2 separate regions of the Homo sapiens genome follow, and region 2 is linked to region 1. Evidence: promoter capture Hi-C in human tissues and cell types (Jung and others, 2019). All regions are on one chromosome and are shown on one strand. The core of a region is centred on a gene start or on the middle of the fragment in contact, and the rest is flanking DNA. Distances in the headings are between cores, read along the strand shown.

Evidence for each region. Contacts are between HindIII fragments. The study calls those that stand out against the background at their distance.
Region 2: a fragment that was not itself captured here is called in contact with the fragment with the promoter of HCN4 in region 1 in 5 of the 25 tissues and cell types used here (IMR-90 fibroblasts, aorta, liver and 2 more).

What each region holds. Positions count from the first base shown.
Region 1 is chr15:73,364,496-73,370,649 of GRCh38, forward strand. It overlaps HCN4 (hyperpolarization activated cyclic nucleotide gated potassium channel 4), which reads right to left and starts at 4,463. Exons shown (of 8, transcript NM_005477.3): 1 at 2,991-4,463. The coding sequence starts at 3,775. The HindIII fragment of the contact is 7,967 bases long and covers 176-6,154 here.
Region 2 is chr15:73,466,777-73,473,262 of GRCh38, forward strand. All of the region lies in intron 1 of REC114 (REC114 meiotic recombination protein), which reads left to right. Among named protein-coding and RNA genes, the nearest start is that of REC114, 27 kb to the left of the region's middle. The HindIII fragment of the contact is 5,641 bases long and covers 1-4,383 here.

The DNA of each region.
Region 1 (6,154 bases), core at 3,213-5,712:
GGACCCATCCAGGACCCAAGAGCCCAGCCAGCCTCGGGGAGGAGCCCGGGGAGCTATGTCCTGAGGGGCTGCAGCATCCTGGCCTCTTCCCTTAACACACCACAAATACAAGTTTCAAAAGGCAGATGGGGAGTTGGAGGGGAGGGGAAGCCAGAAAAGCCCAGGGAGCCTGGGGAAGCCATGGCGGTGGCCAGGGCATGGTTTCTTTTCTATTGGGGGGTGGGATCGGGGGCAGGTAGAGTAATGAGAAGCAGAGGTAGCCCAGAAAAGCCTATGATTAGCCATGGCCCAGGTTATGCTGGTCCCTCAAAGCACAGCCCACCCTTGCCCTGGAAAAGGCACCCAGCCTTCCTCCCCCAGCAATGGGAGATGCTGGAAGCAGCCCATCACAGCCAGCCCTGAACTCCAAACCGCAAACTCAATCTATCATTGTTTGCTGGCAATTCTTTATTAAACCAGTTCTGCTGGATCAATGCTTCCTGCCCGTCAAAATGATGAATAAATCCTCGACTAGCCTGAGCAATGCTTGCAGAAGCTCTTGCGAAGCCTGAGGTGGGCAATGGCGATTGGCTACACATAGAGGCCCAAGGCCAATGGCTAAAACTCTAGAGACCAAGGCTGGGGGTGCTGGTCGGGGTGCGGTGGGTTAGGTGGGGTTGGGTGGTGGGTTTTCGAAGCTTAGAAGAATTAGCTAGGCTCTTGCCTGTTTGACATTCTAAGGATGACACTAGCTGTTTTGGCCTAGAAGCAGGAAAGGTATGGCCACCGCTCCTCCAGACACACTCAGATGGTCTTTCTTGGATTTCTTTCCTTACACCCCACCCAGCTCCAGACAGCTACAAGGCTGTGCAAAGAGGACGTGCCACTTGCAGCTACCAGTCCCTGTTGCTTGTTGCACAAACCCAAATTCAAAGCCCACTCTGACCCTTTTCCTGTTGCCCATTTCACAATTCTGCTGTATCCCCGCTTCCCTATCCCCACACCCTCTCCTGCAGCCATGTCCCAGGCAGCCTGCAGTTAGTGGGAGATTCTGCAGCAGGGGGACTGCAGACAGACATACCAGAATGGGGTAAGACCAGGAAGGGGAAAAGGATCCTATCTGATGAAATCAACCCAGTCCTCACTCTCCAACTTCTAAGGTAAGGGAGATAGGAAGGGCCAGGCCCAGCATCCAGAAGGTCCCCGGCCAATGCTTGCTGCTGAGGGAGGCTGGGCATGCCTGGGGTTGGCCTCTTGTAGGCTCCCCAGGCAATGGGCTTGGTGATGAGAACCCTGAACAGATGCTTTCTGACAACAAAAACAGCAGGGACCTGGGCAAGGGAGGGGAGGGCCCTTCAGCAATCTCGAGGGGTTGGTACTGGAACTGCCTATCACCACCACTGAAGAGTTGAGAGACAGGAGGAAAAACCCAGGACACCCATGGGGGTGGAGGAGACATAGCCCCTGCTCACTCCTCTCTAGCTCGGCCCAGGATCCTCAGGGCCCAGTACTGGCCAGAGGCAAGCCCACTCTTCAGGAACCTGGCACTGGGAACCCAGACACCGTTCCTGATGGGAGGGTCCCACATTTGCTCACACAATTTGATGACTATGGCTGTCTGTTTAGCCTGCCCTCTGGTCTCCCTAGTCTTCTGGGAATGGGAACCCTGGAGATATTAGGGTTAGGAAGAGCAGTCTGTCAAAGGAAAAAAGGGGGGAGGGGCTCTGTTCACTACCTATTTTAAGCCACCGAGTGTTGTCTGACTGGTCATTCCCAGTGCGAGAAATCTCTCTCATTGGATGGAAAATGGCTTTGCTCTCATTACAAACCCAGCTTCCCTGGAGTTTGCAAAGAGGGCTCTGGGTTGGCAAAATGCTCATTTTTATAGGCAGGCAACTAAGGTAGGCAAGGAAGGGAGATAAGTAGGCGGCAGGGCCCAGAGAAAGAGAGAATGAGAGAATTAAACCCAGCTTGAAAAGTGTTTCCCAGACCTTCATCACAATCTCATGCATCACGAAAGCCCAGAGGGGCACTAGGGAACCTTAGGACCTTGACTTAGGTAAAGGCATCCCTGATCCCAACCCTAGAAACAACCAACAATCCCTCTTTTTGCACAAATATGCCCACAAGCTCCCAGTGGTATCTGCTGTTCAGTGGCATCCGACTCAAGTGATGTGGAAGGGGGCAGGGTCCCTCTCCCTGACTGGCAGTCATACCTTGTTTGGGGACCCACGAGTGGCCCATGAGAGACCAAGCAGATGCTGGAGCTTGGGTCTCTGGGGTATGGATGGGCCACTGGACAAGCATGGGACACAGGACAGCTGCTCATCAGTCAGAACACCAGGCATCTTCACCCATCACTATGAGCAAGGTCATTCAGCCCTGCCGCTCTGGATGCCAGCTGCCCAGGGTGCCTGCTCTTGGCCCACCACTCAGCATGAGGAGCTGAGCTCAGGGTTACGGTGGGTGCAGGGGGTTTTCATCCCGGCCTGAGGCCCCAGTGACTTCGGTCCTCCAGGGACCCGGCCGCAGCTTCCCAGGGCACCAGAAAGCAGACATAAATGCCTGCTGTCAGCACCCAAGGAGCTGGCCCGTTGCTAAGAGGTCTGTCTCTCTTCACGGCCCTGCTCTGCAGGCTGAATGACCCGGAGCTGCCTCTAGGATGGCCATCCTGACTCTGCAGCCTTGAAGGGGGAGGAGGAATATGTGGCTTAAGGTGGCAGAGCCCTATCCTGGCTGCCGGCAGGGGTAGGCCAGGCTCAGAACACCTTTTCATTCTGTCTCCAATGCAGCCCAGACCCGAGAAGACCAGTGACTGAACCCAGAGGAAAGTTCCCCCAGCGCGGTGCAGGAGGGGGCCTGGGGGTGTCTCGGAGCCTAGAGGCGCCCTGCCTCTCTTGGAGCTCCCAGCGCAAGGCAGGAAAGTTAACTCCGGCTGGGAGGCAGGGTCAGGAGGAGGCATGCCTGCCACCGCGCAGGGCACCCACAGGATCATCGCTGTGGCCCCTTACCTGAAGTCACTGTAGGGGTGGATAATCCAAAATCCGGCCGACTTGACCCTCTCCTGTTCGCGCTCCACGGCTTTCTGGCTGCCGAACATCCTTAGGGAGAATTTGTTGACCCCGGGTTGGAGCATGGCCCCGAACTGGCGCTGCATGAAGCCGGCCTGGCCCAGGCGCACCTCGGCCTCCGGGAGGATCTGGTCGCCGGCAGCCGCGCCTCCCTCCACTTTGATAGCGGTGTCCACCGAGGGCTGCTCGCAGGAGGCGGAGGCCGGCTGCGGTGGCTGCTGGGGCGGCGGCGGCGAGGCTGCGGGCTGCGCCGAGGCGCCGGGGCGCTCGGGCTCGGCCGCCAGGCCTGGGGGCGTCCTGTCCTCGCCGGGGGACGCGTCGCCCTCGGCGATGAGCCGCCGCTCCTCCGCGGAGTCATGCAGGTGTCCGTGACTGCTGCCGCTCCCCGTGCCGCCGCTGCCGCCGCCCCGGCTGCCCAGCGAGGCCAGGCTCCCGCGGAAGCGCCTGCAGTCGCCGTTCGTGCTGGACTTGCCCGCGCCGCGGGCCGGCCCTTCGCTGTCCGCTGCCCCGAGGGCCGAGCTCCGGGACTCCGTGCCACCCGCGGCCGCCGAGGGGGAGGGCGAGGGCAGTGGCCGCAGCCGGATGCTCCTGCGGCTGGGGTCTTGGCGGCCCCCGGCCCCCTCCTCCTCGGCGTCCTCTTCCTCGTCCATGATCCACGCCTTGGCCCCCACCTGCTGCGGGAGGCTGTAGAGCCGCTTGCGCATGGACGGCGGCAGCTTGTCCATGGCGCCAGGGGCCGGGGTCGGACCGGGCCGGGGGCAGGAGCGCGGCGCCGCGGACGGGCTCCAGGTCCGCCCGCCGGTCAGTCCGCCCGTGGGGACGCGTCCTTTGCCGCCGGCGTGGGGGCAGCCTCAGGCGCCCATGCTTGGGCAGGCTGCGCGCCGCGGGGAGGATCCTAGTCCCGCTCCGAGTCCCCGGGCTCGCCGCGCTACACCTCCTCCCGGGCCCGGCTGGGCGCGGGGACCCCGCGCTCCCTTCTTGCCTCCCTCCCTCCCTCTGGCGTTCAGGGGCGCGGCGCGCCGCCCGGCTCCAGGCGCCCCGCCCCCGCGGGGAACAATGGGCGCCGGCCGGAGAGGCTCTGCGGCCGCGGCGCTCAGGGAACCGCTCCGGAGTGCAGAGCGCACGGCCCGCGCGGGTCCCGGGCGTGCGTCCCGCGGGAGGGCTGGCTGTCCGTCTGTCTCGCCGCCCGGGCTTTGTGGCTGGCCACCCGCGAGCTCGCCTCGCCTCCTCTGCCCCGGCCCGTCCGGCCCGTCCCGGGGCTCCCGCCGCAACCGAGCGGAGCCCAGCGACCCGCCGGGCTTACATCAGCGGCCGCCTCCCCCGAAGCGCCCTCCGGCAGCGCTCGGGCTCCCGCGCCCCGGAATATTCATGAAGCCGCCGCAGCTCGCGGGTTGCCATAGGAGCGGCTCCAGCAGCCGGGCCTGCCTACCTGGGCTTCTTAAAGGGGCAGCGGCGCACGGGCCGGGGGCTGGAAAGGGGCGGGGGGCGGGCCTGGCAAGGGGCCCAGGTTAGACCCTCGCTAGACCTTCGGGGCCGGGGTGAGAGGTATCCACACTGCTGCGCCCTTAAATCTCTTTCCTGGGCTAAGCTGGGAGTGCGCCCCAAGTCTGAAGCTCCGGCTTCAGTTGCGAATTCCCCATCCTAAGATTGAAGGGTGGGGGGTGGCTTCCCAATTTCTCCATCACCAAGCTCTGGGCTCGCCTTTCCCTGGCATTTTTGCCCCTCAGCTGGGTCTCCGACTTTCCTCTTGGGAGGCGACCGGGTTCGTCTGGATGCAGAGTCCCGGCCTTCCCGCAACCCTCCTGGAGAGGGGGCTTCCGGAAATGCGCCGCGTCGGGGAGGCTCCCACGGTTTTCCTGTGACATGGGCAGGGTGCGAACCCCGCGCCAGTCTTTCCCCTGCAAAGCCTCGCAGCAGCCAGGCAAGGAGGGCGTGGGGAAACAGGGAGACACGCACAGGGCGCGCGGGTGGGACCCAGCCCTTCGAGGTAAGACTTCGAGGAAATGCGCCGGCAACAGTGACGGATGCGAGATCCGAACGCCGACCTCCGCACGCGCCTCTCCCTCGGTAGTTCCGAGAAAGGGACAAGCCGGCTGCAGCGGGGAGCGGTTGGGCCGGTTCCTCGGACGCCCCAGCACTCTGGAACTGGCTTTGGAGCCCCTTCTCCCTGTGTTCCCATCCACATTATGACACCTACTATGTGGACCCACGCTGGGTGAGTTCCTGTTCCACCCAGTCCCCTACCTGCACCCCCAAGCAGCTGCACAGCCCCCACTCCCTTCCAGTCTGCAGCCCAGCCCCCTTCCCCCCAACCCCCGCCAAGGATCCAACTGTGTGTCCTCTCTCCCAGTCTCTCCCAGTGTACAGTGTCCGGGCTTATGGACAGATTTCACTAGCTCAGCCTAAGGTATAGCCCTACCCCCTCCAACACCATGGACAGCCTGATACCCCAGATTAGCTCAGAAATGGATAGGGGGACAGATTGGGCATTAAGGGGAGGGGAGTTGTCCAGAGAAGGCTGGAGCCGAGGTTAATGCTGGAGCGGACACACAGCAAAGTCTCACAGGAGGGAGGCAAAAAGGTCCCCTGGCTCTGCCATCTCTCTGAGGAATAACATCAAGTTTTTCTTCAAATGATTTTTTTACTCTCATTCTTAGCCCAATGTGACCACTTTCGCCTCCTCCATCCAGAGTAGGAATTTGGAGAGCAGGATGCGGGGCGGGCAGCCTAGCAGGGGCTCTTCTGCTCTACCCACTGGACCACAGGACCTCCCACAGTGAGAGGAATGACTAGGGTGATGACATCACTGGTAGCTGGCATTTTTACTTTTGAGCAGCTCTGAGCTGACAGTTCTCTGCACAGATGCTGGAAGCCTAATCCCTGAGTGTCCTTGGGTCTCCTTGAGAAGAAGTGTTCTTAAAGAGCTGTGAGCCCAGCCTGCCCTGGTCTACCAGCCACAGGAGGGAAGACCTCCATTTAACACACTTCTTTGAGCTTCTTTGTCTAGCTGGGAGTTAGTCTGCCTTAACCCCGCTCAGGAAGTCAGCCCATATAGGCTTCCCCATGACCTATGGTAGAGACATCTCCTCCTCTGGGAACCCTTT
Region 2 (6,486 bases), core at 313-2,812, 99 kb after region 1:
ATTTACACTTGCAACAGTGTTTTAAATTTTAGACAAATACCAAAAGGTCCCATAAAAATGACAGAATTGGAGTGCCTCAAGTTGTTTCTTGGTCTTTACAATCACTGTGCTATCTTTGTTTTATTTTGAATCTATCATTTAAATGCACAAGAATGTAGTACCACAGGGAGGGAAAAGCCAACTGCATCCTAAGAAAGGGTTGGATTAAGAACTTCATGTTAAGCAGTCTTCAGGTTTAAGAAAGCCTGGTGCACTGCTTTTGAAACAAGTGTATGTGCCTAAGTTTGCATGGATGGGGGTTAGCTGTAACTGGGAGTTTCCCCAATGAACTTATATGTAGACAACAATTTAAGAATAAATAACAAATCTGATATTTTGAAGCTTACATATATATTATTTAAACTCAGCAGTAACTGCAGTAATTATTTGGAACTTAGACCAACAAAATGTTTTTTTCAGGAAGGAGTATTTTTATCACTGACATTGATTAGAATTACTGGCACATGGTGGTAATAAACTGATTTTAGTCAGCTTTTTAATTGTTTATAAATTCTCTACAGACCAAGCATTGCTTTATTGCCAGCACCTGCAGTGTACTGCTCCCAACATCCCACCTTTGGTATGTCACTAATTATATTTGTTGTGTATTGTCTGTACTCTTGCTCTGCATCACCATTTCACACTTGCTCCATTAGGATTAGGATCTGTGTTTTGTTCAGTGATACTGCAATCATATATTTGTTGAATGAAGAATTAATGAAGTTCAAGTTCAGAGACTTTCTATGTCTTTTTTCTTCTCCATATTATAAGAGGGATCAGTACATAGTGGATACTTTGCTATTGTTAACTCACTGACTTAAATGCTTGGCATATAGTCTCTTTGGACTCTTGCATTTCTTGAAAAATTTGGAATTTTGATTGGGATTGGATAGATCAACTTGGAGAATTAGTGTCTGTACTAATTTCTTAGTGCTGCTGTAACAAGCTATAAACTTAGTGGCTTAAAACAACGCAAACATTAGCTTATAGTTCTAGAGGTCAGAAATTTGAAATGGGTTTATTGAGCTAAAATCAAAGTGTCAGGAGGACTGCATTCCTTCTGGAGGCTCAAGAATCTTTTTTTTTTTTTCCTGGCCTTCTCTAACACGTAGAGGTTGCCTGCATTCCTTAGTTTGTTACCCACCTTCCATCCTCAATGCCAGCAATCACATTCCTTCTGACTCTTTCTGCCTCCCTCTTTCTCTTGTAAGGATGCTTCTGATTACAATAGGTTCACCTGGATAATTCAGGGCTATCCCTCCAGCTCAAGATATTTTAACTTAATCACATATGCAAAATCCCTTTGCTATGTAAGATAACATATTACAGGTTCCGGGTATTAGGACATAGACATCTTTAGGGGGACCGTTGTTCTGCCTATTACAGCATTTTAATAATATTAAATCTTCCTATCTGTGAACAAAATATTTCTCTCCATATATTTAAGTGTTCTTAAATTTCTCTCAATTTTCAATGTGCTGGTCTTCTTTTGTCATATTTATCCCTTAGTATTTTATATTTTTGATGTTGTAAATTTTGATGCTTTTAAAATTTCAGGTTCTAGTTCTTCATTAGTGTATGTAAATGCAATTGGTTTTTATTTATTGATCTTCTATTCTGTAACCTTTCTAAAATTCACTTATTCTAGTAAAATCAACTGGATTTTCTACATAGATGATCATGTTGTCTGTGAATAAAGACAGTTTTACTTCTTTCCAATCTGGATGCTTTTTCATTCTTTTTCCTGTCTGATTACAGTGGTAAGAACTTGCGGTAACAATGTTGAATAGAAGTGGTGAAAGTGGACATCTTGTCTTGTTTCTTATCTTAGGGAGAAAGCTTTCAGTATGAAGTTAGCTGTAGTTTTTTTTTTTTTTTTAATAGATGCCCTTTATCAGCTTGAGGAAGTTACTTCTATTCCTGGTTTGCTGAGTTTTAAAATCAGGAATAGATGTTGGATTTTGTCAAATGTTTTTTCTGCATTCTCTCATATTGAGGTGATCATATGGTTTTTCTTTTTTAATATGTTAACATGGTGAATAACTTTGAGTTCACAATATTTCTGATTTCCCTTTTAATTTCTTATTTACCCATGAGTAAATAAGAATATTTGGGGCTTTTTTTCAGAGACCTGTTTTTGATTTCTAATTTAATTCATCTGTGCTCAGGTAACATTCTCTTAAATCAACCAGAACTTGTTCTGTGGCTTAGAATATAGTCTTTGTGAATGCTCTGTGTATACTTGAGAAGAATGTGTTTTGTGTTGGTGTTAGATGGAGTGTTCAATAAATGTCGATCAATCATGTTGGTTGACAGTTGCTCAAGTCTGCTATATACTTGGTGATTTGCTATGTGCTTTTTCTATCAGTTATTGAGAGAGGGGTATTAAAATCTGACTGTAATTGTGAACTTGTCTGTTTCCCCTTACAGTTCTATCACTTACTGCTTCGTGTATTTTTAAGCTCTGTATTGGAGGAATACATGTTTGGGATGATTATCTTTCTTGATTAATTGACCCTTTTATTATTTGAAATGACCTTCTTTGTAACCTTTTGATATTCTTGTCTAATATTAATAAAACCACTCCAGTTTTTATTTTTTATTTTTATCTTTTTAGTGAAAGAGTCTCACTCTGTTACCCAGGCCTCTGGGTGCAGTGTGCAGAGTGCAGTGGTGCAATCATAGCTTACAGCAGCCTCGAACTCCTGAGCTCAAGTGATCCTTCTGCTTCAGCCTCCCAAGCAGCTGGGACTACAGGCGTGTACCACCGTGCCTGGCTAATTTTTACATTTTCTGTAGAGATCAAGTCTTGCCATGTTGCCCAGGCTGATCTCAAATTCCTGGCCTTAGGCAAGCCTTAGACTCTTTTTTTTTTTTTTTTTTTTTTAAGACTCCGTCTCCCTCCTTTGCCCAGGCTGGAGTGCAGTGGCGCGATCTTGGCTCACTGCAAGCTCCACCTCCTGGGTTCACGCCATTCTCCTGCCTCAGCCTCCCGAGTAGCTGGGACTACAGGTGCCCGCCACCATGCCCGGCTAATTTTTTGTATTTTTAGTAGAGATGGGGTTTCACTGTGTTAGCCAGGGCAAGCCTGTGCTGAGATTGTAGGAGTGAGCCACTGTGCCTGGCCTTACTCTAGCTTTTGACTAGCATTAGCTTGGTATATATTTTTTCTATCCTTTTGTTTTTAACCTGTTTGTTTTTATATTTAAAGTGCATTTCTTGTAGGCAGCATATAGCTTGTTTTGTCTTTTTTATCCAATCTGACAACCTCTGCCTTTAATTGAGGTGTTTACATTTAAATGTACTATTATATTTAATATGATTATTGATAGGGTTGGGTTTCAGTCTGTTATCTTGCTATTTGTTTTATAATTTTCCCATCTGTTCTTTGTTCCCTTTTAATTTTGATCTTGCCTTTCGTTTGGATAAATTGAATATTGTTTATCAATATAATCCCATTTATCAGTTATCTTTTAAAGATATTTAGGTAAAATTTTTATGCATTTGCCCATGTAATTATTATTTCCTGCACTCTTCATTCTTTTGTGGAGATCTTAGTTTTTATCTGATAACATTTTCTTTCTTCCTGAAGGACTTCCTTTCACATTTCTTTCAGTGCAGATCTGCTGGTGATGAATTCTTTCTGAAGACATCTTTATTTCCTTTGAAAATTTTGCATCTTAATATGGTGCCTTCATTTAAAAGTTCTTATTTACTTAACCATCCAACAAAATATTGGGTGTCTATTGTGTGCCAGGTACTATCCTAGGCATTTGAATATAACAGTGTCCAAAACGGGGAAAAAAAAATCTCTATCTTCATGGAGCTTAATTTCTGCTCAGGGAAGACTAGTAACAAGTAAATATAACAAAGTGGTAAGAGCTATGGATAAAAATAAAGCTGGAGAAGGGAATAGGAGTAGTGTGGTTTAGATAACATGGGGGAGTTTTCAGATGGATGGTTAGGAAAAGTTTTACCTGAAAACATGATATTTAAGCTAAGGTTTGAAGATGGAGTGAGTCGTGGTATCTAGAAGAAGAGAATTTCAGATAGAACAGCAATTGTAGAAGCCCTGAGGTTTATAATAATCAGTGTGCCTAGTGGGTTCAGGGAGCAGGAAGGAGGCTAGTGTGGCTGATGAGAGTGCACAGTAGGTGGGTGCTACAGGACAAGAGCAGAGAGGCAGTGGAGGGCCTAGACCGTGGAGTGCGTTGCAGGAGCTTCTGAATGAGATAGGGAGCTATTGCAGGGCTGTAAGCTGGAAATGACATGATCTGACTTATATTTTTAAAGGATCACTCTGGCTACTGTATTGAGAATAAACTCTGTGTTGGAGAAGGGAAGCAAGAACAGAAATTGAAAAGCCAGTTAGGAGATTATTATAATAATCCAACTAGAGAGAATGATAATTTAGACAAGACCTATAAGAAGTGGTTGAATTATGGATATTTTGAAGATAGACATGAAGGATTTGCTGATGGATTGGATATGGGTGTGAGAAAAGGAGTCAAGAATGATTCCATGGTTTAGCCAAAGAAATGGAAGGAAAGAATTAATTTCTTAAGTGTTGCATATAGAAACCTGAAAAAGAAGAAAATTATTTTCTGAGGTGAAAATGTTGTGATGTCAAATGTCTACAACAGCCTAGCACAGGGTAGGTACTTTGTAAATAGTGAATGAGAAGGTTAGGAGTTCAAGTTAGGGGCTGTTAATTTTGAGATAACTATTAAACCTTTACATGGAGATGTTGATTGGGTGATTAAATGTAGCAATTTGGAGGGCAAGAGAGTAGTCTAAACTGGGGCTCTCCTGGAAGTTGTTGGCTATGATTTGAAAAAAAAATAATTTGGGAAAAATAGAAATCTTTATAGTGAGTGTTTCTATCCAACAAGAGACATATGTAAGAATGTTCATAACAGTATTATTTGTAGTGAACCTAAACTGGAAAAAATACCCATCAGCAAACAAACAAACAAACAAAAAAAGGGTGGTATCATCATAGAAGGTATTCAAGAATCATGAAAATGAATACACATGCAACAACATTGATGGAGCCAAATGTCAAATAATTCTTTATGATTCCACTCATATAATTAAAACTAAAGTATAGTGTTAGAAGTCAGGATGGGAGATTATTTTAAGGGAAAAAGAAGCAGATAGTGATTTTAAGACAGCAAACACTAGAGGACCTTCTGGAAATCTGGTAATGTTCTATTTCTTCATCTGGGTGATGTATTTGCTTTGTCATTGTTCATTGAGCTGTACACTTATATTTCGGATGCTTTTTGGTATATATGTTACATTTCTTAAAACAAAACATTAAACTATCATGTTAACACATTGCCTTCCAAATAATTCATTGACCAGACTGTAGTTGTGAAAGCTGTACTTGACTCCTAGCTATGCTTCTGGTTCTAACTAGTCATTAAAACACACAGGATAATTCATTTAAACTGTGACAAGAAGAGTGTTGTGCCACTGACCAAGTTCCAAATACTGGGAAAGAGGGAGAATTACAACCACTGAAGGAATTAGTGCAGGTCTTATTGTATCCCCTTTGATATCTAAAATGTTATTCACTTTTTAAGTTTGGAATTTAAAATGAATTAGAGAAAACACAGTAGAAATCTTGGATTTAAATATAGCATTAAAACTCCAAACCCCACGTATGAAACTATAAGAGCATTGTTAGTAGAATGCAGTAACCTCATAAAAACATATCTAAGTTGAATTAGGTATGTGTTAATTATTTTGAACTTTGGGCATTAAGATGAGTCTATAACATCTTATTGTTTATGTAAGGATGTTTACCTTACGGTGTTTATTAAGGATATGAAAGCCACCTATATAGTATAGTCACTTAAGACCCAGATCCCACTCTAATGTATCTATCAGTCATGTCCTTCCCTGACATTTTGATTTAATTTCTTCGGTTCCTCACTATATCTCGATAGGTTGGAACTATAGATCCAATCTAACAAGATAAAATATAATGGGGCTAATCCAAGGTTTTATGTTTAGGTTCAAGATGAATAAAGGGAAGTATGATTTACCAACATAGGTAATGAAGTGTCAGGAGGTTATATTGATTTAAGATCAAACTCTTCAGTGTACTACCCTCTCAAAAAGTTAATGTGATTATAGGCAATAGTATTGCAAGTAATGGGAAATAATTAGACTACACCAAGCAGATTATGGTAAGTTTATGGCACCATATTTTAAGAGTGACACTGACAAACTAGAGCTCATCCAAAGGAAAGCACCAGATGTTAAGGGGTTATGAAAAATGGAGGGCTGGGTGCGATGGCTCACGCCTGTAATCCCAGCACTTTGGGAGGCTGAGGTGGGCAGATACTTGAGGTCAGGAATTCGAGACCAGCCTGACGAACATGGTGAAACCCCATCTCCACTAAAAATACAAAAATTAACCGGGCATGGTGGCGCATG